Linked DNA regions of Homo sapiens: all the other regions are linked to region 3. The links are contacts of gene promoters, found by promoter capture Hi-C in human tissues and cell types (Jung and others, 2019). All regions are on one chromosome and are shown on one strand. Each heading gives the region's core, a stretch centred on a gene start or on the middle of the fragment in contact. The rest is flanking DNA. Distances are from core to core; before and after follow the strand shown. Region 1 holds the start of BAX (BCL2 associated X, apoptosis regulator). Region 2 holds the start of SLC6A16 (solute carrier family 6 member 16). Region 3 holds the start of LIN7B (lin-7 cell polarity scaffold B). Region 4 overlaps LOC107985340 (a long non-coding RNA gene).

Region 1 (5,873 bases), core at 1,063-3,562, 160 kb before region 3:
GGTCCTGAACTCCTGGCTTCAGGTGATCCTCCTGCCTTGGCCTCCCAAAGTGCTGGGACTATAGGAATGAGCCATCACACCTGGCCCCTTTCTTCAATTTTCAAAACAAACTGATCCTTCAAGGTCAAGAGGAAATACCTCCTCTGAGAAGTCTTCTCTGAATGTCAGAGGCAGACAATGTCTGATTTCTGCATGCTCCCCAACATTCAATCATACAGTTATTGAATAACACATTTTGAGAGATAACTATGAATCAAGTAACATGCTGGTTTCTGGGAGAATTGAGGACAAATTAACCTTGTGGAAATTTTGGGTGGATGAAAAAAACCAACATGAAATTAAAACACTGCACACATTTACAGCTGTGAGAAGCATTACACATCCTGGGTGCTATGCGAGCTTTTTTTTTTTTTTTTTTTTTTTTTGAGTTGGAGTTTCCCTCTTGTTACTGAGGCTGGAGTGCAAGGTCACGATCTCAGCTCACTGCAACCTCTGCCTCCAGATTCAAACGATTCCCCTGCCTCAGCTCCCGAGTAGCTGGGACTACAGGTGCCTGCCACCACACCTGGCTAATTTAGAATTTTTAGTAGGGATAGGGTTTCACCGTGTTGGCCAGGCTGGTCTCAAACTCCTGACCTCAGGTGATCTACCCATCTCGGCCTCCCAAAGTGCTGGGATTACAGAAGTGAGCCACTGAGCCCAACCAGGAGCTTTTTCGAGAAAGAAGGAAGTCCAAGAGATCTTCCTGACACCCTAGTCTGACTCTGCCCTTTGCCTGCTCAAAATTTCCCCATGCTTCCCAGCGGCCTTCTGGACATAGATCAAGTCCCTTCTCTGACAGGCCCAAACCCTTTATCATCTGATCCTAGCTCATTTTTCTGAGTTTTCCTTAGTTGCTATTATTTTCTGTCTAAAGTGACATGTCATAATATTCATAAAGCACACAAGTCTTATGTGTACAGCTCAATGAATTGTAAATATGTGTATACCCGGCCGGGCACAGTGGCTCACGCCTGTAATCCCAGCACTTTGGGAGGCCGAGGCAGGTGGATCACTTGAGGTCAGGAGCTTGAGACCAGCCTGACCAACATAGTGAAACCCCATCTTTACTAAAAATACAAAATTAGCTGGGCGTGGTGTCGCATGCCTGCAATTCCAGCTACTTGGGAGGCTGAGGCAGGAGAATTGCTTGAACCCGGAGGCAGAGGTTGCAGTAAGCCGAGATCGTGCCATTGCACTCCATCCTGGGCAACAAGAGCAAAACTCCGTCTCAAAATAATAATAATAATAATAATAATAATAATAATAATAATGTGTATACCCATGTAAACACCATTCAGATAAAAATATGGCATATTTGGGGCACCCGGGGAGTGTCTCTTGTGGCCCCTCCCCTCCATACCCTGCTGATCTATCAGCACAGATTAGTTTCTGCCACTTTTTAAACTTCATATTCCTTTTCTTTTTACACAAACACAAACATTCGAGTCATGACTGGGTGGGGTGGCTCAAGCCTGTAATCTCAGCACTTTGGGAGGCCAAGGTGCGAGGATCGCTTGAGTCTGGGAGTTCAGAGACCAGCCTGGGCAACATAGAGAGACCTCATCTCCACATAAAAAGTTTTAAAAATTAACCAGGGGCGGTGTAGTCCCAGCTACTCAGGAGGCTGAGGTGGGAGGCTTCAGCCCGGGAATTCCAGACTGCAGTGAGCCATGATTGGGCCACTGCACTCCAGCCTGGGCAACACAGTGAGACCCTGTCTCAAAAAAAAAAAAAAAAAAAACAGGAAAAAACAAACAAACAGAAAAGCAGGCCTGGCGCGGTAGCTCATGCCTGTAATCCCAGCGCTTTGGAAGGCTGAGACGGGGTTATCTCTTGGGCTCACAAGTTAGAGACAAGCCTGGGCGTGGGCTATATTGCTAGATCCAGGTCTCTGCAAAAAACAAAACCACTCAGTTTTTAGTCATCTATAACGTCCTGCCTGGAAGCATGCTATTTTGGGCCTCTGAGCTTTTGCACTTGCTAATTCCTTCTGCGCTGGGGAGAGCTCAAACCCTGCCCGAAACTTCTAAAAATGGTGCCTGGATAAATGAAGGCATTAGAGCTGCGATTGGACGGACGGCTGTTGGACGGCGCCACTGCTGGCACTTATCGGGAGATGCTCATTGGACAGTCACGTGACGGGACCAAACCTCCCGAGGGAGCGAGGCAGGTGCGGTCACGTGACCCGGCGGCGCTGCGGGGCAGCGGCCATTTTGCGGGGCGGCCACGTGAAGGACGCACGTTCAGCGGGGCTCTCACGTGACCCGGGCGCGCTGCGGCCGCCCGCGCGGACCCGGCGAGAGGCGGCGGCGGGAGCGGCGGTGATGGACGGGTCCGGGGAGCAGCCCAGAGGCGGGGGTGAGGCGGGAGGCAGACGGGCGGGAGGAGGGCGAGCCCCCTCGCCGGCCCGTCCGGGATCCTTCCTACCGGCCTGGGGCTGTGCGATCTCCAAGCACTGAGGGGCAGAAACTCCCGGATCGGGCGCTGCCAGCCTCCAGTCCCCTCCGTCCTCGGAGGTTCCTGGCTCTCTGATCCCCGTGTCCCGATCCCTGCCTCTCTGGCGCTCTCGGACCCTCGAGAACCAGGGGATCTCGGAAGCCAAGCCCCCGGGCAGGCCCGGGCTTGTCGCCCGCACCACTTCCTGCCTCTGGCACTGGTGGGAGGGGCGGGTCTCGCCTCTGCCCCCTCAGGCCAGGGGTCTGGATGCATATAGCGTTCCCCTAGCCTCTTTCCCCGGGGAGAATGTAGGATACAGGCCCAGCCTCCTGGCCTTTCTCCATCAGGGACTCAGTTGTCTGGGCCCCCCCGTCACTTTATCTGCTAGGGTCCCAGAAGTCCAGGGTCCCCAGCTCTGTCCTCCCTCAGGGGCCGTGAGTCTCCACAGTCTCCTGATCCCCTAGAACCCAAGAGTCCAGGTACCTCTTCCCTTCCTTTCTCCTCTAGGGCCCACCAGCTCTGAGCAGATCATGAAGACAGGGGCCCTTTTGCTTCAGGGGTGAGTTTGAGGTCTGATTATTGTGGCACAGATTTGAGGAGTGACACCCCGTTCTGATTCTGCACCCTCACTCCATCCCCACTCTAGTTTCATCCAGGATCGAGCAGGGCGAATGGGGGGGGAGGCACCCGAGCTGGCCCTGGACCCGGTGCCTCAGGATGCGTCCACCAAGAAGCTGAGCGAGTGTCTCAAGCGCATCGGGGACGAACTGGACAGTAACATGGAGCTGCAGAGGTGTGGGCCCCTGAGGACCCAGAAGTCCAGCCACTGGGCTCCTTCAGGACACAGGACTCTCAGCCCCGCATTCTCCTCCTCCCCTAAGAACTAGGAGTCTGGGCCCCACAACTCAGCGCAAACATTCCGGACTCCCAGCCCTCCTCTCTGCCAGGATCTTAAAACCCTCCTTCAGGGAGTCATTTTTCCCACCTTCCTAAATGTCTGTCTTGTCCCCTTCCCTTGTCCCCCGTTGGCCTGTTGCTTTTCATTTCAGCCTGGCTTGGGGCTCAGTCTCCTTATCTTTAGTGTGCGGTGGATGCGGGAATTTTCCACCATCAGCCTGATGCCTGCTCCCCGGCACTGGTTCTCCTCTCTCCTGCAGGATGATTGCCGCCGTGGACACAGACTCCCCCCGAGAGGTCTTTTTCCGAGTGGCAGCTGACATGTTTTCTGACGGCAACTTCAACTGGGGCCGGGTTGTCGCCCTTTTCTACTTTGCCAGCAAACTGGTGCTCAAGGTGGGCAGCTGCAGGGCAGTGAGCCCAGGGATGCTCCCCCTCAGATCTGTGAGGACCTGGGGATCGTGGTATCAACCCCCTGCAGTGGCCCAGTGACCACAGAGGGCATGGAGAGAGATGGCTGTGCACTGGGTGTCTGCTCCTTCTTTTATTCATTCAACAAGCATTTACTGGACCTGCTATGTGCCAGGCCTATACCTGGCACCTGGGACACAGCACTGTACAAAGCAGGCTACATCCCTGCTCTCAGGGAGTTCACGTGCAGGGGTGAAGTAAAGTGGGCAGTGTGATTTAGCAGAGTGGTCAGGAAAGATTTCTATTTTTTTTTTTTTTTTTTTTGAGATGGAGTTTTGCTCTTGTTGCCCAGGCTTGAGTGCAATGGCATGATCTTGGTTCACTGCAACCTCTGCCTCCCAGGTTCAAGCGATTCTCCTGCCTCAGCTTCCTGAGTAGCTGGGATTATGGGTGTGCACCATTATCCCTGGCTTTTTTTTTTTTTTTTTTTTTTTTTGTATTTTTAGTAGAGACGGGTTTCACCATGTTGGTCAGGCTGGTCTTGAACTCCTGACCTCAAGTGATCCACCTGCCTTGGCCTCCCAAAGTGCTGGGATTACAGGCATGAGCCACCGCAACAAGCCAGGAAAGACTTCTAAGGGCAGGTGACATCAAAGAGCAGGTGACATTAAAGCCAAAGCTAGAATGATAAGAAGCATGCAGTGATCTATAGTGATCGGGGGGAAGAGGCATCTGGTAGAGGGAACAGCAAGTGCAAAGGCCCTGAGGTAGGACCAAGCCTCATCTTTTGACAGTAGGGAGGAGGCCAGTGCTGTTGGAACAGAGTGAACTGGGGAGAGGGTGGGAAAGGAAGGCACAGTTGGGCAGGGGCAGATTGTGTGGAGTTTTTCGGGCTGCTGGAAAGACTTTTTCTTTTCTTTTTTTTTTTTTTTTTTTTTTTTTTTGAGACAGAGTCTCACTTTGTTGCCCAGGCTGGAGTGCAATGGCGCCATCTCGGCTCACTGCAACCTCTGCCTCCCGGGTTCAAGTGACTCTCATGCTTTAGCCTCCCAAGTAGCTAGAATTACAGGCACACACCACCATGCCTGGCTAGTTTTTGTATTTTTAGTAGAGACGGAGTTTCGCCATGTTGGCCAGGCTGGTCTCAAACTCCTGGCCTCAAGTGATCCGCCCACCTTGGCCTCCCAAAGTGCTGGGATTACAGGCGTGAACCACTGCACCCAGCCTGGAAAGACTTTAACTTTACTCTGAGTGTGATGGGAGTGATTGGCTGGTTTTAAATACGGAAGCGACAAGACCTGATTTATAACTTTAAGAGATTATTCTAGCAAGTATAGATGCCCCTTGACTTGCAATGGTGTTACATCCTAGTAATCCCATCATAAATTGAAAATAACATAAGTTGAAAATGCATTCAATGCCCCGATAAACCCATAGTAAGGTCAAAATTGTAAGTCAAACCGTCATAAGTTGGGGACTGTCTGTATAGCAAAATGTTAATTGTAGAATCTAATTATAGGTGGCGGCTATATGGCTTTTAACTGTGAAATTCTTTTAACTTTTCATTATGAAGATTCTCATAAGAAAATGTGGTGGGGGTGGTGGTGAAATGCTCCTGGCTGTTGTTGGCCAAAAGAGATCATGAGGCACAAGGGCAGAAGCGAGGATCCTGGAGAGGTGGCACCTGTCATAGTCTTGCTGAAAGATGACAAGCCCTGGTGGTAGCAGCAGAGGTGCGGGGGGGGCATTTTTTTTTTTAAGAGGTAGGGTCTTGCTCTGTTGGCCAGGCTGGAGTGCAGTAGTGATCATAGCTCACTGCAGCCTCAAACCGCTGGGGTCAAGCAGTTCTCTCGCCTCAGTCTCCAGAGTAGCTGAGACTACAGGAGCATGCCACCACGCCCCACTAACTGTTGCATTAGTCTTTTTCTATAGAGACGGGGTCTCGCTATGTTGTCCAGGCTGGTCTCCAACAGGGAGGGATATTTCTTTTTGGAAGATTTTTTTTTTTTTTTTTTTTTTTTTTTGATACAGGGTCTCGCTCTGTTACCAAGGCTGGAATGCAGTGGCATGACCTTGGCTCACTGCAG
Region 2 (6,740 bases), core at 3,684-6,183, 210 kb after region 3:
ATTAGCTAGGCATGGTGGTGGGCGCCTGTAATCCCAGCTACTCAGGAGGCTGAGGCAGGAGAATCGCTTGAACCTAGGAGGCGGAGGTTGCAGTGAGCCGAGATCACACCACTGCACTCCAGCCTGGGCAACAGAGCAAGACTCCCTCTAAAAACAAACAAACAAACAAACAAAAAAAAACCAGATCTTGAATCAATAACCTAACTCTAAAACTTAAGAAACTAGAAAAGCAAACTAAACCCAAAGCTAGCAGAAGAAAATAATAAAAATTAAAGCAGAAATGAATAGAGAATAGAAAAACAATAGAGAAGCCAAAAGTTGTTTCTTTAAAAATATCAACAAAATTGACAAACCTTTAACTAGATGTACTAAGAAAAAAAGAGAAGACTCAAATGATTAAAACCAGAAATGAAAATGGGGACATTATTACCAATTCTACAGAAATAGAAGGATTATAAGAGAGTACTATGAACTTATGAACAACTGTACACCAATAAACTGGATAACCTAGATTAAATGGACAAATTCCTAGAAATACAAATCTACTAAGACTAAATCACAAACAGAAAATCTGAATAGATCTATAACTAGTAAGGAGATTGAATTGGTAATCAAAAATCTCTCAACAAAGAAAAGCTCTGGACCTGATGGCTTCATGGGTGAATTCTACTAAACCTTTAATGAATTAATATCAATCCTTCTCAAACTTTTCCAAAAAATTGGAGAGGAGGGAACACTTCCTCATTCATCCTATAAGGCCAACATTGCCCTAATACCAGAGCCATACAAAGACATTATAAGAAAAGAACACTACAGACCTATATTCATTATGAACTTTGATGCAAAAATCCTCAAAAAAAATACTACCAAACCTAATTCAGCAGCATATTAAAAGGATTATATACCATGACCAAGTGGGATTTATTCCTGGAATGCAAGGATGGTTCTGCATACAAAAATCAATCAATATAATATACCACATTAACAAAATGAAAGAAAAATAATGATTCTCTCAACTGATGCAGAAAAAACATTTGACAAAACTCAATACCCTTTCATGATAAAAAAAAAAAAAAAAACTCAACAATCTAGGAGTTAAAGGAAAATACGGCTGGGCATGGTGACTCATGCCTGTAATCCCAACACTTTGGGAGGCCTGATGACCACTTGAACCCAGGAGTTCAAGACCAGCCTGGGGCCAGGTGCAGTGGCTCACATCTGTAATCCCAGCACTTTGGGAGGCCAAGGCGGGTGGATCACCTGAGGTCAGGAGTTCAAGACCAGCCTGGCTAACATGGTGAAACCTGATCTCTACTAAAAATACAAAAATTAGTCAGATGTGGTGGTGTGCACCTGTAGTCCCAGCTACTTGGGAGGCTAAGGCTGGAGAATCGCTTGAACCTGGGAGGCAGAGGTTGCAGTGAGCCAAGATCATACCACTGCACTCCAGCCTGGGTGACAGAGCAAGACTCCATCTCAAAAACAAACAAACAAACAAACAAACAAAATTTTTAATTACCTGGGTGTGTTGATGTACTTCTGTAGTCCTAGCTACTCATGAGGCTGAGATGGGAGAATCACTTCAGCCCAGGAGGTCAACGCTACAGTGAGCCATGATGACACCACTACACTCCAGCCTGGGTCACAAAGTGACACCATGTCTCAGCAAAAAAAAAAAAAGGAAAATATCCCAACATAATAGCCATATACGAAAAACTCACAGCAAATGTCATACTTAATGATAAAAGACTGTAAGCTTTTCCTCTAAGATTAGAAACAAGCGTAGAATGTCTAATTTTGCCACTTTTATTCAACATAGTACTGGAAGTCCTAGCCAGAGAAATTAGGCAAAAATATAAATAAATAAAAGGAAACCAAACTAGAAAGATTATATGATCTTATACGTAGAAAATCCTAAAATTTTCACCAAAAAAATTTTTGAGCTAATAAATGAATTCAGCAAAGTAGCAGGATACAAAGTCAACAATCAAAACTCAGTTGCATTTTTATACACTAACAATGAACAATCTGAAAAGAAAATTATGAAAACAATTCCATTTGTAATAGCATCAGAAAGAATAAAATACTTAAGAATTAACTTGGCTGGGCACGGTGGCTCAAGCCTGTAATCCCAGCACTTTGGGAGGCCAAAGTGGGCAGATCACCTGAGGTCAGGAGTTCGAGACCAGCCTGACGAACATGGAGAAAACCCGTTTCCATTACCAAGTTACCCAGGCATGGTGGCACATGCCTGTAATCCCAGCTACTCAGGAGGCTGAGGCAGGAGAATCACTTGAACCTGGGAGGCAGAGGTTGCAGTGAGCCGAGATTGCACCATTGCACTCCAACCTGGGCAACAAGAGTGAAACTCCATCTCAAAAAAAAAAAAAAAAAGAATTAACCAAGAAGGTGAAAGACATGTACAAAGAAAACTACAAAACATTGCTGAAAAAAATTAAAGGAGACATAAATAAATGGAAAAATATCCCATGTTCATGGGTTGGAAGACAACACTGTTAAGATGTCAGTATTACCCAAAGCAATCTACAGAATTAGTAGCTTTTTTTTTTTTTTTTTTTTTTTTTTTTTTTTTTTTTTTTTTTTTGCAGAAATAGAAAAACACGTCCTAAAACTAACATGAAATCTCAAGGGACCCTGAACAGCCAAAATAATCTTGAAAAAGAAGAAAAACGCTGGTGTACTCACATTTCCTGATTTCAAAACATATTACAAAGCTATAGTAATCAAAATAGTGTGTTACTCACATAAAGATACAGACCAAGGGAACAGAATAGAGGGCCCAGAAACAATGTATGGAAAAATGATTTTTTACAAGGGTGCCAAGACTACTCAATGAGTAAAGGACAGTCTTTTCAACAAATGGTGCTGGGAAAACTGGATTATGTACAGGCAAAAGAGTAAAGATGGACTCTTACCTAACACCACATACAAATACACAAAATAAATCAAAGACCTAAATGTAACACTTAAAATTATAAAATTCTTAGAATAAAACATACGACAAAAGCTTCATGATAGTGGATCTGCAATGAATTCTTGGATATGATACCAAAGGCAAAAGCAACAAAAGAAGAAACAAACAGGATTTCATTAAAATGTTTTAAATTTGTGCATCAAGAGACACTATCAAAGGGGTGAAAAGATAACCCACAGAATGGGAGGAAATATCTGAAAATCATATGTATAATAAGAGATTAATATTCAGAATATATAGAGAACTCGTAAAACTCAACAACAAAGAAACAAACAACACAATTCAAAAATGGGCAAAAGACTTAAATAGACATTTCTCCAAGGAAGATATACCAATCTCCAAGAAGTACATGAAAAGATGTTCAACGTCACTAATCATTAAGGAAATGCAAATGAAAACTACAATGAGATAATACCTCGCATCCATTAGGATGGCTAATATAAAAAGGCAGAAAATAAGAAGTGTTGGTGAGGATGTGGAGAAATTGGAATCCTTGTGCCTTGCTGGTCAGAATGTAAAATGGTGCAACCACCATGGAAAACACTATGGTGGTTCCTCAAAAACTTAAAAATAGAATTACCATATGATCCAGCAATTCCACTTCTGGGTATACACCCAAAATAAGTGAAAACCAAGCCTCCAGTGGCTCAGCCTGTAATCCCAGCTCTTTGAAAGGCTGAGGTGGAAGGATTGCTTGAGCCCAGAAGTTCGAGGCTGTAGTGAGAGGTGATCATGCCACTGGACTCCAGCCTGGGAGACAGAGAGAGACCCTGTCTCTTAAAAATAATAATAATAGGCTGGGCACGGGGGTTCACACCTGTAATCTCAGCACTTTAGGAAGCTGAGGCGGGTGGATCGGCTGAGGTCAGGAGCTCGAGACCAGCCAGGCCAACACAGTGAAACCCCGTTTCTACTAAAAATACAAAAAATTAGCTGGGGGTGGTGGCGCACGCCTATAGTCCCAGCTACTTGGGAGGCTGAGGCAGGAGAATCGCTTGAACCTGGGAAGCAGAGGTTGCAGTGAGCTGAGATCGTGCCACTGCACTCCAGCCTGGGTGACAGAGTGGGACTCCATCTCAAATAAATAAATAAATAAAAAATAATAGATTCATGTTTCTTAAACACATTCTAGAACAGTTGTCCTTAAAAGCAAGCTTTACGGAAGGGAGAGAACTGAGTTTTGGCCAGCTGGCCACTTCCAACATCCATAAAGCCCCTTGAGCCCCAGGCGGACTCCTCTTCCCATATGGGTGCAACCCTCCATGGTGCCCCTACACCGTCATCCCAAGCAACTCCTAGGCTCATGCCCTGTGGGGAGTGCTCAGGATCCCCCAGAAATGCCCATTCCCCTCACATTACCTCCTTCCCTGGAACTATAACCTCCAGAAAAGGAAAATAAGGAGCTGGTGTCCCATTTCTGCAAAAAGCAGAAAATAACTGCCCTAACAGACCAGTGATGGGGCTAGACCCGGGTTTCTGCCACTCGGGCACTTGACACTGATGGCTTTCCCCAAAGGCAGGGACTGATGGCCGAATCCTGTCAAGGAATTGGCTCAAACTCGGACTGGATGAGTGAGGAGAGCCGAAGACAGTTTCCTCTGTCCTACGTGGGGGGTAAAGGAGGGACCCCTTTGATCCCTCAGCTCCACAGAGCCCAGGGCAACCAGGAGGCTCCCAGCCAGTCACCTGTCACCCGTCAGTGGAGCCCAGTGGGCCCGGGCCTCGAAAATGGCGCCCAGCCCCACACACCCCAGATGTGGGAACATTTTAGGGCTCCCTGGGCCGTGACCCTCACCCTAGCCCCAAGGCTTCTGCCAGGTTCTTCAGTCCAGCCAGTCGGACAAAAATGAGGGTGAAGAAGCCCCAGCTGAGAAGCCTAGCAATCTCCTCAGGCCCCTTCAGGCGTCGACAGATCGGTTTGGGCGACACCCCTCGATCTGCCTGGCGCGCGGCCTTTCCCGCCGATTCTCTGCGCATGCGCCGCCGCGCCCCCTCACTCTTTCCCTACAGCTGTAGCAAACACTGTAACCACTTCGCCCTCCCCAACTCCCTGCTCTCTCCCCACACGCACGCACGTGTGCACATCCTCTGACTGCTCACGCGCCACTCCCTTCCCCACCGCACCCCACCCCGACACCCACGATGCCACGCTTCAGGCGGGGCTCTAAGACAAGGCCTTTCTCTGGCACATGCACTTTGCTTCCACTTCATGTAAGGAAGAAGAGGGTAGGAAGTGGGAGAATCGTCTCATTCATTCCTTCTAGCCTTCAAACCTTTCGCATTTACTTAAAGATCGCCTACTAGAAACCAAACCTTAAATATGCGTCCAACAAGGCAGACAGGGACGTTGCCTTAAGAGAGCTCAGAAGCCTACTAGGGCTGCAGACAAGAATTAAAAACTCAAAGATTTACTTAGGTCATCCGTTCTCATACTTTCCGGTCTCTTAAGAATTATTAAGGACTCCAATAATTTATGAGTTACATTTATATGGGTTGTATGTTTATGTGAGTTGTATCTATCAATATTAAAATAAATTTCTAAAATAGTCATTGTTTAAAAATTCATTATGTGTCAAAATAACATTTTTATTTAAAATAACTATAATTTCTACTCCAAAAGAAATTTTGGCGCTGGGCGCGGTGGCTGACGCCTGTAATCCCAGCACTTTGGGAGGCCAAGGCGGGTGGATCACGAGGTCAGGAGTTCGAGACTAGCTTGGCCAACATGATGAAACCCCGTCTCTACTAAAAGTCAAAAAAAAAAAAAATTAGCCGGGCGTGGTGGCACACACCTGTAATCCCAGCTACTCGGGAGCCTGAGGCAGGAGAATCGTTGGAACCCAGGAGGCAGAGGTTGCAATGAGCCGAGATTTTGCCACTGCACTCCAGCCTAGACAACAGAGCAAGACTCCGTCTCAAAAAAAAAAAGGAAAAAAAAGAAAAAATTTGGGGAGAAGAATGGCATCATTTTACATTTTTGCAAATCTCTCTAATGTCTGGCTTCATAGAAGACAGCTGGATTCTCATATCTGCTTCTGCACTGAGTGTGTCAAAATAGCTCATGTCTTGTAGCTTCTGGCAAACATCACTATATTCAAAGAGGAAATGAAAGTGAAAGGCAAATAATATCTTAGTAGTATTATGAAAATAATGTTCACCTCATGGACCCCCAAAAGTGTTTCAAGAGCCCCCAGGAGTCCCTGAGCCACACTTTGAGAATGAAAGGCTTAAATTGTTATGATTGAACAAAGAGATGAAGAGGAAATTTTGGGGGTGCTGTAAGAATTCATCACAATCTTTGGGAATCATTCAATCTTTCAACACGTATTTATCGAGAGTCTACTAAATGCTAGGAACTGGGAATAGTGTAGAGAACAAAACAGACCCCATTCCTGCCCTCGTTTTGCTTCACACAACAAGAAAACAGATATATGATGAATCTCAAATAATTACATGATTATAAATTGTATTAAGTGCTATGACAGGCCGGGCATGGTGGCTCACGCCTGTAATCCCAGCACTTTGGGAGGCCAAGGTGGGCGGATCACATGAGGCCAGGAGTTCAAGACCAGCCTGGCCAACATGGTGAAACCCCATCTCTACTAAAAATACAAAAACGAGCCAGGTGTGGTGGTGCACGCCTGTAATCCCAGCTACTCGGGTGGCTGAGGCACAAGAATCACTTAAAACCATGAGGCAGAAGTTGCAGTAAGCCAAGATCACACTACTACACTCCAGCCTGGGT
Region 3 (5,838 bases), core at 2,512-5,011:
AAATAAATAATCAATCAGGCTAAGAAAGCCTAAAACCAGACTTTTTCAGGATTTAGGCAGTCTGCTAGTCAGAAGAAAACTCTGGAAGAAGATAACGTTCCGAGTCTCCACATGTACTATTTTTAGTACCCATTACTCAGCATCTACTCAATAGTTACCAGCCTTGCTAGAAAGGACTTAATTTGCTGAAAACCAAGAGGGAAACAAAATAGACAATAGAAAGAGACCCAGGCAGGGGTGATTCAGATGTTGGAGTTATCATAACTATGATATATTCACAAAATAAGGAAAAGATGGAGAATGTTGAGATATCTGGAATCTAGCTACTTGAGAGGCAGAGGTAGGAGGATTCTTTAAGCCAAGGAGTTTGAGATTCAGTGAGCTATGATCACACCACTGCACTCCAGCCTGGGTGACAGGAAGACCCTGCCTCAAAAAAAAAAAAAAAATCTGGAATCTAACAAAAAGTTAAATGGCAATTCTAGAACTAGAAAACACAAGTGAAATTAAGAATTAAGTAGGTGGTGGCCAGGCATGGTGGCTCTGTAAACTCAACACTTTGGGAAGCCAAGGTGGGAGGATCACTTGAGCCCAGGAGATGGAGACCAGCCTGGGCAACATCGCAAAAGCCTGGTCTCTACAAAAAATACAAAAATTAGCCAAACGTGGTGGCGTGCGCCTATGGTCCCAGATAGGAGGCTGAGGTGGAAGGATTACCTGAGCCCAGGGAGGTAAAGGCTGCAGTGAGCCATGATTGCACAACTGCTCTTCAGCCTGGGCAACAAAGTGAGACCCTGTAACGACAACAACAACAAAACACACACACACACACACACACACACACACATATATATGTATATATAGAGAGAGAAATAGCATGTTACTTAGACACAGAAGCAGCTCTCAGACTAAACATCTGTAAGTTCCCTCTCACAGTGAGTAGAGTTAGGAGAGGTAGAGGCTGGTGCTTTTCACTATTATTAGCCTGTCTGTGTTATTTGATTTTGTTTTTAATCCCATAAAGACATTACTTTTTGCTAAAGAGAGAGCTACAGTGAAGGAGACAGCCAGACAAACCTGCTCTAGTCCTCCCACTTGGAACAAGCACTTTTCTGGACTCCATATCGCCACCCAGCAGAACCAGAAGAGCAGCCAACTTTCTCCAAAGTCTTGTCCACATCTCCTCGGCCTCTCTAGAGCATGATACCACTGACCACTTCCTTTTTTTATTTTTTATTTATTTATTTAATTTTCCAAGATGGAGTTTCGCTCTTATTTCCCAGGCTGGAGTGTAATGGCACGATCTCGGCTCACTACAACCTCCACCTCCTGGGTTCAAGCTATTCTCCTGCCTCAGCCTCCCAAATAGCTGGGATTACAGGCACCCGCCACCACGCCCAGCTAATTTTTTGTATTTTTAGGAGAGATGGGGTTTCATGAAGTTGGCCAGGCTGGTCTCAAACTCCTGACCTCAGGTGATCCGCCCGCCTCAGCCTCCCAAAATGCTTACAGGCGTGACCACCACACCTGGCCTCACTTTTTTTGTTTGTTTGTTTGTTTGAGACGGAGTTTCGCTGTTTTTCCCAAAGCTGGAATGCAATGGCATGATCTCCGCTCACCGCAACCTCCGCCTCTTGGGTTCAAGCAGTTCTCCTGCCTCAGCCTCCCCAGTAGTTGGGATTACAGGCATGCACCACCATGCCTGGCTACTTTTGTATTTTTAGTACAGACAGGGTTTCTCCATGTGGTCAGGCTGGTCTCCTGACCTCAGGCGATCCACCCGCCTCGGCCCCCCAAAGTGCTGGGATTCCAGGCGTGAGCCACCATGCCCAGCCACACTTCTTTTTAAAAACACTCGCAGCCAGACACAGCGGTTCGTGCCTGTAAACTCAGCACTTTGGGAGGCCAAGGCAGGGGGATTGTTTGAGCCCAGGAGTTCAAGACCAGCCTGAGCAACAAAGACCCCTCCATCTAAAACAAACAAAAAAAGAAGATAAAATTTAAAAACCCCTCTTCTCATGGTTTCTCCCACCTGGGTTTCTGCCTACATTTCAGGCCATTCTCTGCTGTCCTCCTGACTTTTAAGTGTTAGAGAGGTCTGGGGACCAGTTCTAGGCCGTCTTAATATTCGCTTGCCCCTGACATTCTTATCCACTCCGGTGGTTTTATTTACCACCTATGCCCCAATATTCAAACATGCCTGCAGACCAGGTTGCTCTTTTGAGCCCTAGACCTAGATCGATAGTTTCTCCCCATGGATTCTGCATAGGCTCCTCAAATTCAAAATATCCAGTATCGGCCAGGCAAGGTGGCTCGCGCCTGTAATCCCAGCACTTTGGGAGGCTGAGGCAGGTGGATCACTTGAGGTCAGGAGTTCGAGACCAGCCTGGCCATCATGGTGAAACCCCATCTCTATGAAAAATACAAAAATTTGGCAGGTGTGGAGGTGCACACCTGTACTCTCAGCTACTCAGGAGGCTGAGGCAGGAGAATTGCTTGCACCCGGGAGGCAGAGGTTGCAATGAGCCGAGATCACGCCACTGCACTCGAGACTGGGCAACAGAGGGAAGACTGTGTCTCAAAAACAAAATATCCAGTATCCCTCTTTCAGTGTAGACCATCTTAAAAATGGCACCAAAGCACCTTAATACTGTCTTCTCCTGCACCTCCCAATCCCCTTATATAGCCAAGCACCAAGGCTTGTCTAGACATTTCCCACATCTGCCCACCCATCTTCTGTGCTTTGGCCCTGGTGCTAGCTGCCACCTGGATGGCTGTGGTAGCCTCGTAAGTTGCCCCGCTGCTTCTCCTCTTGTTCTTGTCCAAACCAGTCTCCACAGTGGCTACAGTGATTTTTTTTTTTTCAATAGATACGAGGTCTCACTATATTGCCTATGCTGGTCTTGAACTCCTGGGCTCAAGTAGTCTTGCTGCAGCCTCCCAAAGCGCTAGGATTACAGGTGTGAGCCACCGTGCCCGGCCCCAGTGATCTTAAAATACAAATTTGAGGCCCAACCTGGGCGACAGAGCGAGGCTCCGTCTCAAAAATAATAATAATAATAATATAATAATAATACAAATTTGAGTGTCATATTTTTCTCTTAGGAGTTTGCATGAAGCCCCAAATCCTCAAGGCGCATATGCCAACGCAGGAGCCCAGGCATAAACTATCCTGCCGACCTTTTCACCTCATCATCAACCAATCCTAACTCTGCTTCCAGCCACGTGGGCTCTTTCTGGGTGGTGGGGGTGACCCAAGCTCCACCTCTTGTTCATCTTACCTCCCAGGACTGTATGTCAATGTCCCTCCTCTAGGATTTCCTTCGTTTTCTAGATCATCACCTCCCCACTCTCAGCTCTCATCACAGCCGTAGTTGGTCGTCTACCTCCCCTATAGACTGGAAGCTTCGTTCGGGCCGTGGGCTTGGCTGTCCTGCTCACCACGGTGTCCATGACTTGGGCTCAGATGTTTCACAAGAGTTTGTTGAATGAATGTGGGGAAAGGATGGACAGGGGATAGACGGGTGTGGAGGGCAGGCAGACACGGATCCTGAAAGGTACACACAGACCGAACCTGCAGTGGGAGGGGTCGCCAACAGGACCGACTGGCCGGGGCGGAGGGCAGGGCGCGGCTGGCGCGCGGCAGGTGGTCGGAGCAGTCGGGCGAGGGAGAGCTGGGCGCTCTCCAGGCTGCGCCTCCGCAGGGGGCGCCCGTGGCCCGGGGCGTGGCCTCGCGCAGCCCCGCCCTCCTCGCCGGCGCCAGGGCAGGCGGGCGGCTGGCAGCTGTGGCGCCGACATGGCTGCGCTGGTGGAGCCGCTGGGGCTGGAGCGGGGTAAGCGTGCGCCAGGGGGCCCTGCCCACCCGGGCCGCGGCCTACATACCCAGCCCCCGGTCCCCGCCCTTCCCGGGTCAGGCCAGTGCGGGTGGGCCAGCGGACCCGGAGGGGGTGGGCGGGGCGGGCGCCGGGGCCGGGCGGTCGCTAGGTGTGGGAGGCTCCCTGGGCGCGGGCCGGGACGCTGGGCGCCCGCCTTACAACCCGGCCTGTGGAGGGGTCCCGGGGCCGCAGGGCCGCTGGTGGCAGTCTCTCCTGCGCCACCCTGGACTCTGCGGGGTGTCCGACTAGGCTTCGGCCGTCCTCCCCGGACTGTGCGCTCGGCCTCACTCCGCCGCTCTCCTTGCTTCTCTGCGTCTCGGGGTCTCTGACACTCGGGGTTTCTGCGCCCCGCCCCCGCCCCGCAGACGTGTCCCGGGCGGTTGAGCTCCTCGAGCGGCTCCAGCGCAGCGGGGAGCTGCCGCCGCAGAAGCTGCAGGCCCTCCAGCGAGTTCTGCAGAGCCGCTTCTGCTCCGCTATCCGAGAGGTGAGGGGCGCGCGGCGCAGGGGCGCGAGCTGGTGGCCGTCGTCCTCCTCCTCCTCCTCCTGCTTGTCCCGAGCCCGGAGACTACGCCTCCCGGCAGCTCCCGAGGCGGCCCGCCTTGGGGTGCCAACGCTTCAGCTCAGGGGTTCTTCGGGAGTTGTAGTTTTCTCGGCCTTCTGTTGCGGGGGCGGGGCGGATCCTTGCGTGGTAGCGGGAGAGGGTCTAGAGGCCTGAACTCCTGCGTCTAGGGCTGGAGGAGCTGGCGACTCCCTGATGCCGCTGCCTCCTCACCCAGGTGTATGAGCAGCTTTATGACACGCTGGACATCACCGGCAGCGCCGAGATCCGAGCCCATGCCACAGCCAAGGTGGGCCCCGCACCCCATTGCTCCTGGTGTCTATTTAACTGCCTAGTCGAACTCAATATCTCCTTCATGCCAGTCATTTCTGTTTCCTCCCTCATGATTTTTGCTAAATCTATGTGCCACCTTACTATTAGTAAATAATCGCACATTTTTAACTTAAATGTCATACTAAGGCATCTTTAGCAACTGCAAATGGAAACAGTATGGCATGGTTGGTAGAAGATAACCTTCAACATCTGTACAGTGCAAACCAGGAAACTCATGGCGCTCTGACCTCTCACTGCACAATAGTTAGATGCTGCTACCTCTTGCTGCTGTCCGGAGGCTCAGATCTCCCTCCAGGCCTGGCTTTCCTCTGTTTAAAAGTAAGATTGAGGCCAGGCACGGTGGCTCACGCCTGTAATCCCAACACTTTGGGAGGCCGAGGCAGGTGGATCAGTTGAGGTCAGGAGTTCGAGACCAGCCTGGCCAACATGGTGAAACCCCGTCTCCACAGAAATACAAAAAAAAAAAAAAAGAAAGAAAAAGCCGAGCGTGGTGGCGAGTGCCTGTAATCCCAGCTGGATTACAACTCCGGAGGCTGAGACAGGAGAATCGCTTGAACCCAGGAGGCCGAGGTTGCAGTGAGCCGAGATCATGCCATTGCACTCCAGCCTGGGCAACAGAGTGAGACTTCATCTCAAAAAAAAAAAAAAAGTAAGATTGGCAAGTATGGGGTATTCAAGACACACACCAAATGGACACTTTCTCTTGCAAGTGAACAGAAAGAGACGCACAGTCATTACAGGGGGATCGTGCATTGTGCCATGACAAGTGTCCCATGCTTGGGGATAGTAACCCAGGCTAAATCGCTGTCCTCGGTCCACATCCCCCACCCCAGCTTTCATGCCTACCTGGAAGGGGCCCTCATCTTCAGTCGCTTTCTCTCTCCCAGGCCACAGTGGCTGCCTTCACAGCCAGCGAGGGCCACGCACATCCCAGGGTAGTGGAGCTACCCAAGACGGATGAGGGCCTAGGCTTCAACATCATGGGTGGCAAAGAGCAAAACTCGCCCATCTACATCTCCCGGGTCATCCCAGGGGGTGTGGCTGACCGCCATGGAGGCCTCAAGCGTGGGG
Region 4 (6,570 bases), core at 3,768-6,267, 150 kb after region 3:
CGGGAGGCTGAGGCAGGAGAATGGTGTGAACCCGGGAGGCAGAGCTTGCAGTGAGCCAAGATCGCGCCACTGCACTCCAGCCTGGGCGACAGGGCAAGACTCCGCCTCAAAAAAAAAAAAAAAAAAAAAAAAGATTTAAAAAAGAATAAACTCTGGTATACCCTACAATGGAATATTATTCATCCATAAAAAATGAAATTCAGATACATGCTATAACATGGATGAGCCTTGAAAACATGTTAAATGAAATAAGCCAGATACAAAAAGACAAATATTATGATTCTATTTATATGAAATATCTAGAATAGGCAAATTCATAGAGACAGCATATTAGAGGTTACTAGGGGGGTGCTGGGCAGAGGGAGAGGAATTACTGCTTCCCAGGTGCAGAGTTTCTATTTGGGGTGTTGACATGTTTTGGAACTAGATAGAGATAGTGGTTGCACAACATTGTGAAAGTACTAAATGCCACTGAAGTGTTTCTTTAAAATGGCTAATTTTATGTTATGTGGATTTCACCTCAATAAAAATAATAAAAGATGATGAAATAATGCTACCAGACAGACAAAAGTTGGGAGAATTTGTCATTAGCACATCAGCACTGCAAAAAATATTAAAAATCTTTGGGCTGAAGGAATATTATTGGAGCTGGAAAGAGATGTAAGAGTAAAATAAGAGACGCAGAAACACATACTGCGTGATTTCACTCATACGTGGAATCTGAAAAAGTTGATCTAGAAGTAGAGACTAAAATGGTGGTTACCAGAGTGGGGATGATGGGGGAGTGGGGTGCTGGGGAGTTGTTGGTCAAATAATACAAAATTTCAGTTAGATGAAAAGAATAGGTTTAAGATAACTATCATTCAACATGGTGACTAAAGTTAATAACTACACTGTAATCTTGAAAAATGCTGATTTTAAATATTCTCACCACAAAAATATTAGATATGTAAATTAGCTACATTTAGCATTCCACAATGTATATATATTTCAAAACATCATGTTGAACACAAATACATACAATTTCATCTGTCAGTTAAAAAATAATAACATAAAATTTAGAAAGGAATAAAGAAAACCTGAAAGGGTGTCCCAGCTACTACCTAGGTCAAAGTAGTCCTAGCTACTCAGGAGGCTGAGGAGAGAGGATCACTTGAGCCCCAGAAGTTTTGAGGCTGCAGTGAGCTGATCATGCCATTGCACTCCAGTTTGGGCAACAGAGCAAGACCGTGTAGGCAAATTTGAGACTAATGAGTGCTTAAAGTAACAATAGCAGCAATGTATTGTGGGGTTCATAATATGTAGAAGAAAAATATTGGAGAACAATTGAAAAAAAAAATGGTGGGAAAACTAGAAATAGAAGGCAACTTCCTTAATCTACAGCTTCCTTAAGCCTATAACTAACATCACACTGAACAATGAAATATGAATGCTTTTCTCTTGAGTTTGGGGACAAGGTAAGGATGTTCATTCCACATTGTATTAAAGGTCCTAGCCTGTGCAATAAGGCAAGAAAAAAAAGTATAAAGATCAAAGTAAATAAAACTTTCCTTATTTAAAGGTGATGTAAGTATACTGTCAAGAGATCATGTATGTAGCTGGGCACAGTGGCTCATGCTTATAATCCTAGTACTGTGAGGCAGGAGGATCAGTTGAGGCCAGGAGCTCAAGACCAGCCTGGGCAACATAGCAAAACTCCATTTCTACAAAAATTGAAATAAAAAATTGGCCAGATGTGGTGGTACACGCCTGTAGTCCTAGCTACACAGGAGGCTGAGGAGAGAGGATCTCTTCAGCCCAGGAGTTTGAGGCTGCAGTGAGCTGATATGCCACTGCATTCCAGCTTGGACAAAAGAGTAAGACCCTGTCTCAGGAAAAAAAAAACCCAGATATTGTATATGTAAAAAGAATCTACAAATGGATGAAATTAAGTTTGTAATCGAATTTAGCAAAGTTCCTATATATAAGGCGATTGTACAAAAAATTATATTTTTGTATAGTAGCAACAAATAATTGGAAAATACTATTTTAAAACATCAAAGAAATTTAATACTTAGTAATCAATGTAGTTAAAATGTGTAAGACCTCGCTGAAAACTACAAAACAATGCAAAACACTTAGAGAATTTTACCATGTTCATGAGTTGGCAAGTTGAACATTTTTACAATGTCAATTATCCCCAAATTGATCTACAGATTCAGGGCAATCTTAAACACAAAATCCCATATTGTTGGTTTTTTGGAAACAGACAAGCTCGTTCTAAAATTATATGGAAAGCCAAAGACCTTAGAATGGCTAAGGCTATCTTGAAGAAGACCAAAGTTGGAAGACTTAACTTACCGTGGACTTATCTTATTATCTTAAGATTTACTCTAAGGCTACATAATTAAAACAGGAGGGGAGGGGCGGGGGAGATGGGGGAGGGGCTGGAGAGAGGGGTGGGAGTGTGGTGTTGGCAAAGGATAATAAATAGATCAATGGAAAAGAGAGTCCATAAATATACTCCAGCCTATGTGGTCACTTAATTTATAATAGAATTGCCACTGTGATTGGGTGGCGATGGATGGTCTTTTCAATAAGTAGTGCCAGAATAATGATATCTATGTAGAAAATAAGCTTGAGCCCACCTCACATGACACACGAACATTAATTCAAGATGAATCATAGATATAAATGTGGAGGGTAAAACAAAAGAGATTCCAAAAAAATATGAAAATATCACTTTGACTTTGGGTAGCACATTTTCTTAAATATACACAAAGAAAGCACTAAGAAAATTAGAACTCAACCTCATTAAAATTAAGACGTTTTTAAAAATTCAATGACATCTTTAAGAAAGTAAATAGGTAAGCCACAGACGGAACACATTTGTAATGCACACATGTGACAAATGACTTGTATTCAGAATATAAATAATGCCTACAAAACAATAAAAAAAAAAAGCCTAAGAAAAGGTGAAAGACTTGAACAGGGACTTCACAAAAGCAGCTATTCAGATGACCAATAGCCATATAAAAGTGCTAGATATCATTACTCATGATGAAAATGCAAATTAAAGCCACAATCAGGTACTACCGCACAGCTACCAGCACGACCAAAACTGAAAACACTGAGCTCATCAGATACTGTCCAGAATGTGCAGTGACCGCAGCGCCCTTCCATCGCTGGCGGGAGCGGAAAGTGATTTCACCATTTTGGACGGGTGTTTGGCAGACTCCCTAAAGACAAAAACACCTGTTCTATGACCCATAAAGTCACGTCTATGTGCATAAAAATATGTACGAGAATATTTGTTGCCACTTTATTCACAATAGCCTCCAAATAGTGGCATATTCATACAATGTAATACACAATAAAAAAGATCCAGTTACTGATGCCCCCAAAACACGAAGCTCAAAAGCTTTTCAGATTTAATTAATAATTTTAATGGTTAATAAAGTATATTCTTTTTAAATTTAAAAATATTTAATTGACAAAAACTGTATATATTCAAGGCATAATATGATTTATGTATACACTGTATAATGATTACCACAATCAAATTAACACATCCATAACCACCATAATTATCGTGTGTGTGCGCGTGCGTATGTATGTGATGAGGACACTTAAAATCTGTTCTCTGGCCGGGCGTGGTGGCTCACGCCTGTAATCCCAGCACTTTGGGAGGCCGAGGTGGGCAGATCACCTGAGGTCAAGAGTTCAAGACTAGCCTGGCCAACGTGGCAAAACTACTAAAAATACAAAAATTAGCCAGGTGTGGTGGTGGGTGCCTGTAATCCCAGCTACTCGGGAGGCTGAGGCAGGAGAATCACTTGAACCCAGGAGGCAGAGGTTGTAGTGAGCTGAGATTGCACCAGTGTACCCTAGCCTGCACGATGGAGCGAGACTGTCTCAAATAAAAAAAAAAAAATCTGTTCTCTTATCAAATTCAGGTAAATAATACAGTATTATTAACTGTAGCCACCATGTATATATTAGATCCCCAGAACTTAATAATCTTATAACTCAAAGTTTGTACCCTTTAACCAACATCTCCCCATTCCCCATAAGCCCTAGCATCTGCCAAAGCTGCACAGCAGGAAAAAAAAAAAAAGAGGCTAGGCGCGGTGGCTCACGCCTGTAATCCCAGCACTTTGGGAGGCCGAGACAGGTAGATCACGAGGTCAGAAGATCGAGACCATCCTGGCTAACATGGTGAAACCCCGTCTCTACTAAAAATACAAAAAATTAGCTGGGTGTGGTGGCGGGTGCCTGTAGTCCCAGCTACTCGGGAGGCTGAAGCAGGAGGATGGCATGAACCCGGGAGGCGGAGCTTGCAGTGAGCGGAGATTGCGCCACTGCACTCCAGCCTGGGTGACAGAGTGAGACTCCATTTCAAAAAAAAAAAAAAAAAAAAAAAAGGCAATCTATGGAATCAGAAAATATTTGCAATGTACATCCGAAATATGAATGGAACTCATACAACTTAATAGCAAACAAACCAAACGACCTAATTAAAAAGTGGACAAAGGACCTGAGTAGATATTTCTCCAAAGAAGACATACAAATGGCCAACAAGTATATAAATAAATGCTCAACATCAGCCGGGTTCAGTGGCTCAGCACTTTGGGAGGCTGAGGCAGGTGGATCACCTGAGGTCAGGAGTTGGAGACCAGCCTGGCCAATATGGTGAAACCCCATCTCCACTAAAAATACAAAAAATTAGCTGGGCATGATGGCATACGCCTTTAGTCCCAGCTACTCAGGAGCTGAGGCAGGAGAATCACTTGAACCCCGGAGGCGGAGGTTGCAGTGAGCTGAAATCATGCCACTGCACTCCAGCCTCCTGGGCAACAGAGTGAGACTCCATCTCAAAAAAAAAAAAAATGCTCTGGCTATTCAGGGTCTTTTGTTATTCCATACTCTGGGCGGCAAGCCACCTAGGAGCCAAGGCAAGAGACCGAGGGCATGAGCTGTTCCACTATAGTAAAATATGTAAAAACAACAAGAGTTATACTAGATCTAGATCATAGACATGATTACATATGAATATCATTAATCATTAGTTTGTAGCAATTACTCTTTATCCCAATATTATAATAATCCTCGCTCTACAATCATAACCTAGGAAAAACCAGGCCATACAGAGACAGGAGGTGAGCGGACATAGTGAGAAGTGACCAGAAGACAAGAGTGCGAGCCTTCTGTTATGCCCAGACAGGGCCACTAGAGGGCTCCTTGGTCTAGCGGTAACGCCAGCGTCTGGGAAGACAACCGTTGCCAAGCAGACTGTGGTCTAGCGGTAGCGTCAGTGCCAAGGAAAAACACCCACTACTTAGCAGACTGGGAAAGGGAGTCTGCCTTTCCCCGGGGGAGTTTAGAGAAGACTCTACTCCTCCACCTCTTGTGGAGGGCCTGACATCAGTCAGGCTCACCCGCAGTTATCCAGAGGCCTAACCATCTCCCTGTGATGCTGTGCTTCAGTGGTCACGCTCCTAGTCCGCTTTCATGTTCCATCCTGTACACCTGGCTCTGCCATTTAGATAGCAGTAGCAAAATCAGTGAAAGTACTAAAAGTCCCTGATATGCAGAAATAATGGCATAAGCTGTCTCTCTCTCCTTTCTCTGCCTCGGCTGCCAGGCAGGGAAGGGCCCCCTGTCCAGTGGACACATGACCCAGGGGACCTTACCTATCATTGGAGATGACTCACACTCTTTACCCTGCCCCTTTGTCTTGTATCCAATAAATAACAGCACAGCCAGATATTTGGGGCCACTACCAGTCTCTGCCTCTTGGTGATAGTGGTCCCCCGGGCCCAGCTGTCTTTTATCTCTTTGTTTTGTGTCTTTATTTCTACAATCTCTCATCTCCACACACACGGAGAAAAACCCACTGACCCTGTGGGGCTAGTCCCTACACCATACAAATTTTAGGATTTTTTTGTGAAAAATGTCATTGGTATTTTTGCAGGAATTGCATTGAATCTGTACATTACTTTGAGTAGTATGGACACTTTAGCAATATTAATTCTCCCAATCCATGAGCATTGGATGTCTTTCCATTTATTAGTAATCTCTTCAATTTCTTCCACCAATTTTTTATAGTTTTCATTGTAGAGATCTTTTACCTCCTTGGTTAAATTTGTTCCTATGTATTTTATTTTTGTTATTATTGAAAACAGGATTGTTTTCTTGATTTCTTTTTCAGATAGTTTGGTGTTGGTATATAGAAACACTAGTGATTTTTGTATGTTAATTTTGTGTCCTACAACTTCACTGAACTTGTTTAATCTAACAGGTTTTTGGAGAGGCTGTAGGGTTTTCTATATATAAGATCATGTCTTCTGCAAACAAGGACAATTTGACTTCCTTCTTTTCAGTTGGATGCTTTTTTTTCTCTTGAGATGGAGTTTCGCTCTTGTTGCCCAGGCTGGAGTGCAATTACATGATCTTGGCTCACCACAACCTCTGCCTTCTGGGTTCAAGTGATTCTCTTGCCTCAGCTTCCCGAGTAGCTGGGATTACAGGCATGCGCCCCCACCCCTGGATGCCCTTTCTTTCTTTCCCTGGCCTAATTGCTCTGGCTAG

The links. The method cuts DNA at HindIII sites, captures the fragments that hold promoters and counts their contacts. A contact is called where the count stands out against the background at its distance.
Region 1: a contact is called between the fragment with the promoter of BAX here and the fragment with the promoter of LIN7B in region 3, in 4 of the 25 tissues and cell types used here (aorta, heart left ventricle, neural progenitor cells and 1 more).
Region 2: the fragment with the promoter of SLC6A16 here is called in contact with the fragment with the promoter of LIN7B in region 3 in 2 of the 25 tissues and cell types used here (adrenal gland and mesenchymal stem cells).
Region 4: a fragment that was not itself captured here is called in contact with the fragment with the promoter of LIN7B in region 3 in 2 of the 25 tissues and cell types used here (liver and thymus).

What each region holds. Positions count from the first base shown.
Region 1 is chr19:48,952,563-48,958,435 of GRCh38, forward strand. BAX (BCL2 associated X, apoptosis regulator) reads left to right here and starts at 2,313. Exons shown (of 6, transcript NM_138761.4): 1 at 2,313-2,400; 2 at 2,986-3,037; 3 at 3,125-3,271; 4 at 3,636-3,771. The coding sequence starts at 2,367. RefSeq lists enhancers at 1,992-2,560, 2,561-3,128, 2,578-2,787 and a silencer at 2,308-2,457. The HindIII fragment of the contact is 13,021 bases long and covers 1-5,873 here.
Region 2 is chr19:49,320,258-49,326,997 of GRCh38, forward strand. SLC6A16 (solute carrier family 6 member 16) reads right to left here and starts at 4,934. Exons shown (of 12, transcript NM_014037.3): 1 at 4,791-4,934. RefSeq lists an enhancer at 6,098-6,247. The HindIII fragment of the contact is 19,669 bases long and covers 3,589-6,740 here.
Region 3 is chr19:49,110,609-49,116,446 of GRCh38, forward strand. LIN7B (lin-7 cell polarity scaffold B) reads left to right here and starts at 3,762. Exons shown (of 6, transcript NM_022165.3): 1 at 3,762-3,833; 2 at 4,241-4,359; 3 at 4,652-4,723; 4 at 5,655-5,838. The coding sequence starts at 3,797. RefSeq lists a silencer at 3,582-4,161. The HindIII fragment of the contact is 18,984 bases long and covers 1-5,838 here.
Region 4 is chr19:49,261,329-49,267,898 of GRCh38, forward strand. All of the region lies in intron 2 of LOC107985340 (a long non-coding RNA gene), which reads left to right. Among named protein-coding and RNA genes, the nearest start is that of MIR4324, 44 kb to the right of the region's middle. The HindIII fragment of the contact is 4,018 bases long and covers 3,009-6,570 here.